3 separate regions of the Homo sapiens genome follow, and all the other regions are linked to region 2. Evidence: promoter capture Hi-C in 16 types of primary human blood cells and fetal thymus (Javierre and others, 2016). All regions are on one chromosome and are shown on one strand. Each heading gives the region's core, a stretch centred on a gene start or on the middle of the fragment in contact. The rest is flanking DNA. Distances are from core to core; before and after follow the strand shown.

What was found. The method cuts DNA at HindIII sites, captures the fragments that hold promoters and counts their contacts. A CHiCAGO score of 5 or more calls a contact.
Region 1: a contact is called between a fragment that was not itself captured here and the fragment with the promoter of RPGRIP1L in region 2, in 1 of 17 cell types (naive CD4 T cells). The highest score is 5.1, in naive CD4 T cells.
Region 3: a contact is called between a fragment that was not itself captured here and the fragment with the promoter of RPGRIP1L in region 2, in 1 of 17 cell types (naive B cells). The highest score is 5.0, in naive B cells.

The regions. Positions count from the first base shown.
Region 1 is chr16:53,546,367-53,549,616 of GRCh38, forward strand. LOC105371269 (a long non-coding RNA gene) reads right to left here. Exons shown (of 8, transcript XR_933588.4): 4 at 2,058-2,231; 5 at 1,900-1,956; 6 at 519-588. Among named protein-coding and RNA genes, the nearest start is that of AKTIP, 45 kb to the left of the region's middle. RefSeq lists an enhancer at 549-1,050 and a silencer at 608-787. The HindIII fragment of the contact is 601 bases long and covers 1,426-2,026 here.
Region 2 is chr16:53,702,485-53,705,493 of GRCh38, forward strand. RPGRIP1L (RPGRIP1 like) reads right to left here and starts at 1,375. Exons shown (of 27, transcript NM_015272.5): 1 at 1,319-1,375. FTO (FTO alpha-ketoglutarate dependent dioxygenase) reads left to right here and starts at 1,672. Exons shown (of 9, transcript NM_001080432.3): 1 at 1,672-1,745. The coding sequence starts at 1,701. RefSeq lists a silencer at 1,285-1,334 and enhancers at 1,370-1,870, 1,485-1,894. The HindIII fragment of the contact is 16,527 bases long and covers 1-3,009 here.
Region 3 is chr16:53,506,058-53,508,979 of GRCh38, forward strand. No RefSeq gene overlaps it. Among named protein-coding and RNA genes, the nearest start is that of AKTIP, 4.3 kb to the left of the region's middle. The HindIII fragment of the contact is 3,745 bases long and covers 1-2,922 here.

The sequences.
Region 1 (3,250 bases), core at 476-2,975, 160 kb before region 2:
CAGGCTGGCCAACAAGAGCGAAACTCCATCTCAAAATAAATAAATAAAACTACAGATGCCCAGGCCCATCCTACAATTACTTATTCAGTAAGACCAGGGTTTAGGCTGGAAGTCTGTATTTGGACAAGTTTCCCAGGTGCTTCTTGGCATCAGAAAAGTCTGGAAAACACTGCAAATATTGCAAATATCTCTTGTCTTGTCACTGCATCCCTGAGAAGCAAGTGGTGATGGGGTTTGAGAGTTGGGGCAAAATTATTAACTTTCACTTCCAGCTGGGGAAATAATGGCTTAGAAAAGTGCTCAGCTGTATTTGTAACTTGGACCGACTGAAATGCCAGCCTCAAAATATTTTATTTCATTGCCACATAAAGTAAAAGATCATATGGTTAAGAGATGGACAGACAGGAGGCATCTGACCCTGTAAGTTACTTCTATCAGCATAATTATGATCTTTGCTGTGTTGTCTGGTGTGCTCAAGGGTCCCACTGTGAGCTATTAAAGAATGAGGTATTGATTACCTCTGCCTTGGGTTTTTTATCTGCAGTAAGGAGATCCTCCCTGCCTCAAGCTTTCTCCATGTTTTTAACCCTGGAACAAAAAAAATAGAGTGCGGTGGACCAAAAACCCATGAGAAGTTCCATCCATCAGTGCATGGAGGGTGGAGGGAAGGTGCTATGCAGGTGAGCAACTCTGTCCCCTGGCGGCCACTTTAGCCCCTGTCCCATTGAACATCCATGGGCCCCAGACACACAGGGAAGGCGGGGACAAGTAGGAAAAACAGAACTCCCAAGACAGTCATTTGCACTCTCAGCATGACACACGTGCATTAAAGGGAAACTGCAAGGATGTCAGGGTGATGAGAACATTCAATACAAACAGAGAGGCCCCAGGGTTATGTCCACCCTCCCCCACTCTGCGCAGTTACTGCCAGGGCAGGAAAACTGGGTTTCAAGTCAACAATTTGTCTCCTTCTCCTGAGAGGTGTTTGCCTGCAGAAAGATGAATCAGAGAAAAGATTGAGGTCTGATTTCACCCTCCATGTTCTGCCTTACCATGGCCAAGCACGCAAGGGAACACATGGTGGGAAATTGTTTCTTCCCAAGAGACTCCAGCCTCTAGTAGGAGCCCTGCTGCTGGTTCCCCTTATGCAGTTGAGTGTCTTCTTGCTCTCTAACAACTAAGGCAGTCACATTTTACTTCTGTAGTTAAGTCACCCTCTTTTAAAATGATCACTGAGCCAGTAGGCAGAAAGGCAGCTTACACCCACCTCTTACCGTGACCATGACCTTGGGCAGCCCTTGTCTCTGCCTCAACTTCCAATAACGCTAGTTACATTAGGTGCTAACTTTATGGGATTCTCTGCCGACATTCTTCCTTTGTGTGTGACTGATGGGACATTGTCTACTAGGCACACAGTAAAATCAAAGCTTCTCTTTCCAAAATTAACCCAAAACTGACTTTTGCTGTGCAATCATACTCTTGTAAAATCTGCTTTTCATATCCCTTGAGTTGTTGCCACAACTCTATATAAACATATGGAAAATGTTTCAGTTCCAAAGAAAAAAGCTCAAGTCTTCCCTAAGTCAGTGTATTGAGTCCTTAGACCACATCTCACATCTGAGAGGGGCCAGGGTTTTTTCTAACACCCACTGGATGTAGTTACCACAGCTCTGTGACCTCAGAGGAACCCAGCTTCACCTTATAAGACATGGAGGAGAGGAAAGGGCAAAGTATCTGTGGGCACAAACTGTGGACAGAATGTGGGAACAGGAAAAATAAGCCAGGGGTGATATTAACCATGACAAGTGGTGAGGTTTGGGTGATGAAGATACATTAAAATAATCCTGTCTTTCTTAATCTCCTGAGCCCTTGGTAATGCTCTATTGACTAAATACTTACCAGGTTAAAAACATGTCTTGCTTCCTGCTTTCCTGGAGGCACTCCAGTCTAAATCATCTACAAGGTAAAGAATTTATCAAAAACCATTCTGATAACTTTGACTACCTCCAGCTGGGATGCCCTGCAAAGCTTCCCGAACACCAAGGATCACCACTTACCATCACACTCTTTCTGGAACTGTGAATGCTCTGGGCTCCTGAAGTTAGATTTTGGTTTCAGATGCGATGTTAAATTCTAGGAGGTTGACCCTGGATGGCAACTTGATATATGTCTCAGAGGCCTTGAAGGTACATGCCCTCTTTGATCCAGAAGTTCCAGAGCTAAGAGTGTATCTTAAGAAATGTCATCAGTACAAACCTTATCATTGTTAAAAGTCAGTAATCATGTGTGGCATAAGTAAATTATGGTATGCTCATATGAAAGAATACTCTGTAGCCATTCAAAATCATATAGAGGAATATGCAGTGACATGAAAGAAAGTTCCTCTCCTATGGGTTAATGAAAATTATAGTACCATGTAAAGTTAACAGTGGTCATCTTTGGTTGATAGGATTATAACTGAGATTTTTAAATTCCTTTTTGTCTTGTTTTCCAAATTTTCTGCACAAAGCAAATATTATTTATTTATTTTCAGCGACAGGGTCTTGCTCTGTTGCCCAGGCTGGAGTGCAGTGGTGTGATCATAGCTCACTACAATCTTGAACTCCTGGGCTCAAGCAATCCTTCCGCCTCAGCCTCCCAAATAGCTGGGACTACAGGCATGTGCCATCACACCCAGCTATTTAAAAATATTTTTTGGTAGAGACAGGGTCTTACTATGTTGCCTGGGCTGATCTCAAACTCCTGGGCTAAAGGGATCCTCCCACCCAAACCTCCCAAAGTGTTGGGATTACAGGCATGAGCCACTGCACCCAGGCTGTTGGTGCAGTGGTGTGATCTTGGCTCACTGCAGCCTCAACCTCCCAGGCTCAAGCGATCCGCCCACCTCAGCCTCCCAAGTAGTTGGGACTACAGGTGTGCGCCACCACACATGGCTAATTTTTGTATTTTTGTAGAGATGGGGCTCTCCCGATGTTGCCCAGGAAGGTCTTGAACTACTGGGTGCAAGCAATCTGCCCACCTCGATCCCCGAAAATGCTGGGATTACCGCACCTGACTTCAGCTGGTAACTTTTTAAGTAGGAAAAAACTAATTCCACTTCTGAGTAGGAAAAAAATAATAGAACAGGATAAAAATCTTACTGGCCTTTATGGGACTGACTTCCAGCTTCCACTTTGTCATGAAAAGATTCTATGTTCCTTGTGTTTCTAACTTGTCCCAAACACTATATTCACAGGTTGTCTCGGTTCTT
Region 2 (3,009 bases), core at 125-2,624:
TCCTTCTTTGCTCACTATGCTTCACTTACATTATTCTTTACTTTCCTCGAACCCCCCATACCCTTGTCTTGCTCAAGGCCTTTGTATTAGCTGGTTCCTTAATCTTTGGAGCTCAGTTCACTTCCTCAGACAGGTTTTCCCTGACCATCCTATGTTAGAGTAGTCTTCCTTACATTTCTTCACTGTTTATTTCTTTTCTTTTCTTTTTTTTTTTTTTGAGACAGGGTCTTGCTATGTTGCCCGGGCTGGCCTTGAATTCATGGGTTCAAGTGATCCTCCCACCTCAGCCTCCCGAGTAGCTGGAACTACATGTGCGTGCCACCAAGCATGGCTTGTATCTCTTATAGCAACTGCCTCTATCTGAAGTTATCAGATAAAATTATTGTTTGTCTCCACTAAAAAAGGATAAACATCTTGAGACGGGTATTAGTCTTGTTCACAACTGTTCAGGAACAGTGCCTGGTACAGGGTGGGAACCAACATTAATATTTATTGAATGATTGGCTGTGCGTGGTGGCTCACACCTGTAATCCCAGCACTTTGCGAGGCCGAGACGGGCGGCTGACTTCAGGCCAGGAGTTCGAGACCAGCCTGGCCAACATGATGAAACCCTGTCTCTACTAAAAATACAAAAATTAGCTGGGTGTGGTGGCACACGCCTGTAATCCCAGCTACTCGGGAGGCTGAGGCAGAAGAATCGCTTGAACCTGGGAGGAGGAGTTTGCAGTAAGCTGAGGTCTTACCACTGCACTCCAGCCTGGGCAACGGAGCAAGAACCTGTCACACACACAAAAAAAAGAATAAAGAAAAAATATTTATTGAATGAATAAATGAATATCAGGTACTGAGATTAAAATGGCAAGCAAAACCCCCGCCTTTATGAAGCTAGCAAGTTATGGAGGTAATCACATGATAAACAAATAATATATAATTAAGCAAACAATAGACCACTCAGGAGGTTTAGGGTCTACCAACCAACTCCTAATCCAGGGCAAATGAGCAAACTGTGTTAGGGACCTACAACTTGCAGGATCTGGATAGAGATGGCAATTAGCAGCATCAACTCTCACCTTCATGGCTGGGATATAACATTTCAAATTGGTCCTGGACGTGGGGATAAAGGGCGGCCTGTGATTCAGGCCTGAGGATGTGGAGGTGTCTTGGGCTGGGCTGCTTTCACGCCAGCAGAACTCCAGGGCCAACTCCAGGGCCTTCTCCAGGCGGCAGAGCGGACCCTAGGACCCCGGCCCGCGCTGCAGTGGGGAGGGTCAGCAACCTCCACCCACCCTCATCCTCCCCCATCCTCCCGGGTACTCACCGTGCCACTGGCCCTGCAGCTAGCTACCGTTGCTATAGCGCCGACAGCGTGGCGGGCGGCTGGCCGAGAGGAGCACGGGAGAAACATGGCAGGCTCCCGTAGCCTCCTGGGAAATGTAGTTCTCCTTGGACTCTAGCCTGTTTGCTCGCGGGGTAGCGGACTACGCTCTTCCAGCTGTCGGACCTGGGAAATTCTCCTGTGCTAAATCCCGTGGCGCTCGCGGGTGTCGCCGCGGTGCATCCTGGGAGTTGTAGTTTTTTCTACTCAGAGGGAGAATAGCTCCAGACGGGAGCAGGACGCTGAGAGAACTACATGCAGGAGGCGGGGTCCAGGGCGAGGGATCTACGCAGCTTGCGGTGGCGAAGGCGGCTTTAGTGGCAGCATGAAGCGCACCCCGACTGCCGAGGAACGAGAGCGCGAAGCTAAGGTATGTCGGGCTCCCGGGGCCTGGAGATCTTCGTGCGCTGTGAGCAAGGATCAGGGAACCGGAAGGGCTTGGTTTGATGGCGAGCGGATGCGCGGTGTTAAACTAAGGGATGACAGGGCCTTGTCAGCAAGGGACCTGGAGATATTAGAGGGGATGTTACAAATTCGTGCTCTTCAGGATGCAGGCCGAGTCTTGTTGGATCGGCTCAAAAATGAGAAGCAAGATACCCATTTCCTTGTCCTTCTTCTGCATCTATTCCTTGGTTAAATTTGTCGCCATCCCTGTGCCTCAGTTTACCGGATTCTCAGATGACTGTGATCATACCAGCTGTGCTTTCTCATAATGGTCTCTGAGGACTGAGATCGGCTTAGATGAAATATCTGTGCAGTCAGCTGTGTTTCTTTGGAACAATTGTCTCCGTGACCGGCTGATAACAGTTTGTGTCTTTTAGCGCTGTGGATATGAATCTTTAACTACATTGCTCCTCTCTACCTTTGATGTTCAGCTTCTGGTAGTTGCCATTCCATGGGATGACCATAATAATGGCAACAGAGATTTTAAAAAGCATTTATTGTGGGTCAGGCACTGTATTAAGTGCATAATATTTAAATTATTTCATATCATTGTCACAGCAGATTGCAAGATAGATATTATACAGATGGAGTATAAATAACAGCCCAGCTTCACAGATGAAGAACTGAGGCTCAGAAGCATTGAGTGTTTTCCTTTCTCTCATTCCCAAACTCAGATCCTGTTGATTTGTCTACGTATATTGGGAATATGCCCACTTTTTTTTTTTTTCATCTCCACTACCTTGGACCAAGCTACCATTATCTTTTTAATAGACTGTTGGAATAGCCTATTGATTGGCCTACACTCACTCTACACCCTAACTTAACTCTTCTTCCACCTTCTCTCCCTTCCCTCAACTACCATTCTCTTCTGCACACCATAGAGTAAGATCTTCGTGAAATGCAAATATAATTATGTCCCTTTCCTTTCTCCTTACTCTGCCAACCACCTGTTTAAAAATATTCCATGGCTTTCTGTTGCTCTTAGGATAAAGGCAAAACTTCACATTGCCTACAAGATCCTGCATGATCTGGACCCTACCTGCTTTCACAACCCCATTGGATATGACACTCTGCTCTCTGCCTACCAGTCACTTTGGCCTTCTTAAAAGTCACTCTTCACTATACTTTATCGGGCTTCAGGGCCTTTGCACATGTCATTTGCTGCCTACTCTATGTTAGGCAAATATTGG
Region 3 (2,922 bases), core at 280-2,779, 200 kb before region 2:
AGGTATGGGGGATGAAGAGGCAGATATGGCTGACACCTAGATTTTTAGCATGAGCTACAGGATGGATGGTGAGGCCATTCACTGAGGTGACAAACAGTGAACCACAAGCAGGTTTGGGACAGTGGGAAATGGGAAAATCTGGGTTGTGTTTTGGGTAGGTATGTTTGGGGTGTTTCTGTAAGCACTATTGCCTGTATACCTAATACCCACTTCTCCCTTTTTCATTGCTGACAGAACCTCCATTTTCTTGAGGAATTTAAGCCCTTCAGTGGTTCCCCATTGGGCAAAGACCAAACTCCTCACCATGGCTGTGTCCCAGCCCCAGGTGGCTGCAGACTCCAGCCACTCTGACATTCTTCCAGTTCCTTGGAAGGGAGTTGCTCCCCTACCTGCCCTGCCACAAAAGGGGCCTTCGCAGTGAACGTTCCCTTTGCCCAGTTCATTCTCTTCAATCCCCTACACAGATCTCAGCTCTAACACTACTTCCTTGGGGGCAATTTGCTGTTGATTTGGGAGATTATTAGTGTCTGTCTCCCACACTGTAAGCTCCTGAGGAGGAACCATTTTTTTGCTTTCTATTGTCTCCCCGGCACCCAAGAGCTAGATGTTGTAGGCATGCAATAAATATTTGCCAAATGAAGGACAGAAGAAACAAAAGTACATTTGAAACACCTACCTGCACGCCCACAGGTCTGCACCAAGAAAGCAACTCATTATGAAAATCAGGATGATTTATTCAAAGGGAAATGAGGAGGTGGCCTCAAGGTACCATTTCTTTAAGACTAAAACATAAAGTGCTGAGAAAAATCTCAATGGACCCAAAACCTTACCTATAAAACATTTTAAATCGCTTCATATTACATTTCCTATTCTCAATTTTTGAAGCATATTTGATATATTTGCACCAAAAGGTTCTTTTTGCATCCAGACTTAATAGATATGTGATCTCTGAGTATTCAGGACTTCTGCTCATGTTCTAATCAGCAAAATATTCCCTGAATCATACATCTTTTGGACTCCGGAAAAGTAACTGTACAAAGCTGTTTAGATCACTGACTTAACTATTAAAGGCCTTCACAGAAAGAAGGAAAGGATAAAATGTTGAAGGTTGTTAAAATACATATGTTTCATACACAGGCACACATATAAGCCGATGTTTTTAGCGCAATCCATTTGCCCCCAAGTCCTTTTCTGAAAAGTAGATTCCTGTATACATGTCACTGATTACATATACTGTTCAAAATATGGGAGGATGATCTAGCTATACATATTAATGTCTTTGAAAAAATATACTTAGCACATTAAAGCCATTATTTTATGGGTAATAATGTTTAGGATGAGACCAAAGTAGGCATTTAATGTTGTTGTTTTTTTTAAGTAAATGGATTTAAGGGAGATCAGATAGTTGTCCTATAGTTAACAATGATCCTCAGACAAGACAGAAATCACAAACTTTTAAGAATTATTGAAGGTTTAGAAATGCTGCTATAGACGGATGATGTGGCTTTCTTCCTTTCCATAGCCTCATCGAGCGATACGGTTCTTGCTTATAACATCACACATGTGCTTCCAGGTTTTGGTTGCATCATGTTTTCCTCCCTATCCCATTACCCATAACTCCTATCCCTGAGCAAGTGGGTGGGCGGGTGGAGGAATGAATTTTACAGACAGACTACAACATTTCAAAATGAAATCAGGGTAGCTGATGGACCACTGCGGATATTTATGTCTTAAGGAAAAGCAACCAATATATGATACGGCTGCTCATTCAGGGCTGAAGAGAACTGATTTCCTTTTATAATCAAACAGCATTTTGAACGTGGTCTGACACCGCAAATAATCCCCACTCCCTCAGCACGCTGATGACTGTACCCACAGCCATAAGAGCAGTGTTCTCTTTGATTCAGTTTATCTTTGGGAAACCACTTCACTCTGTGGTCTCAAAGCATTTGGAATGATGATAAAGGCTTGAGTTAGTTTTATCTAGAGTGGCACACTCAGAAAACCAAAGAGAGAGAAAGCAATACTCTTTCAGGGAAGGGTACTATTCCAGGCACAGACACCTTTTCTTTCTTGCAATAGGTAAATGGTGATTCCGTGAACGATAGGGAAGCTCAGTGATCTCGAGAGTCACCCACCCAAAGCAAATGACACCGTGACCATCATTTATTCTAATATTTTACTATAAAAATGTTCAGTCATACCGAAGAGTAGAGGACAACAAACTCCCTTACACTCACCATCTAGATTCAACAATGTTAATGTTTTGCCGTATTTCATCTATTAGTTTTCCTCCTGAGTCATTTAAAAATAAGTTGCCGTCATCATGTCCTTCCCTCCTTAGTGCTTCCCAGGGTGTTTCTCTTCAGAGCAAGGACATTCCCTTACAGAACTACACTGCCACAGCCACCCCTAAGAAAATTAACTCCACATTCCTAGACTTTGTATGCTTTTTTTTTGTTTTTTGAGACACAATCTTGCTCTGTTGCCCTTGCTGGAGTGCAGTGTCTCACTGCAACCTCAGCATACTGGGCTCAAGCAATCCTCCCACCTTAGCCTCCCGAGTAACTGGGACTACAGGTGCATACCACCACACCGAGCTGACTTTTGTATTTTTTTGTAGACACAGGGATGCGCCCTGTTGGCCAGGCTGGTCTCAAAATATGCCGACTTCGGCCTCCCAAAGTGCTGGGATTACAGGCCTGAGCCACCGCACCTAGCCTTCAGACCTATTAAAATTGCCCTAATTGTCACACACCAAGAAAACACTTTTATGGTTAAGGACGGAATGTTTATCTCTTCAAAATTTATATGTTGAAAACGTAATAACTAATGTAATGGTATTTGGAGGTGAAGCCTTTTGGAGATGACTGGGTTATGAGTTAGTCATACATGGGATTTGTGCCCTTATAAAAGGGACCC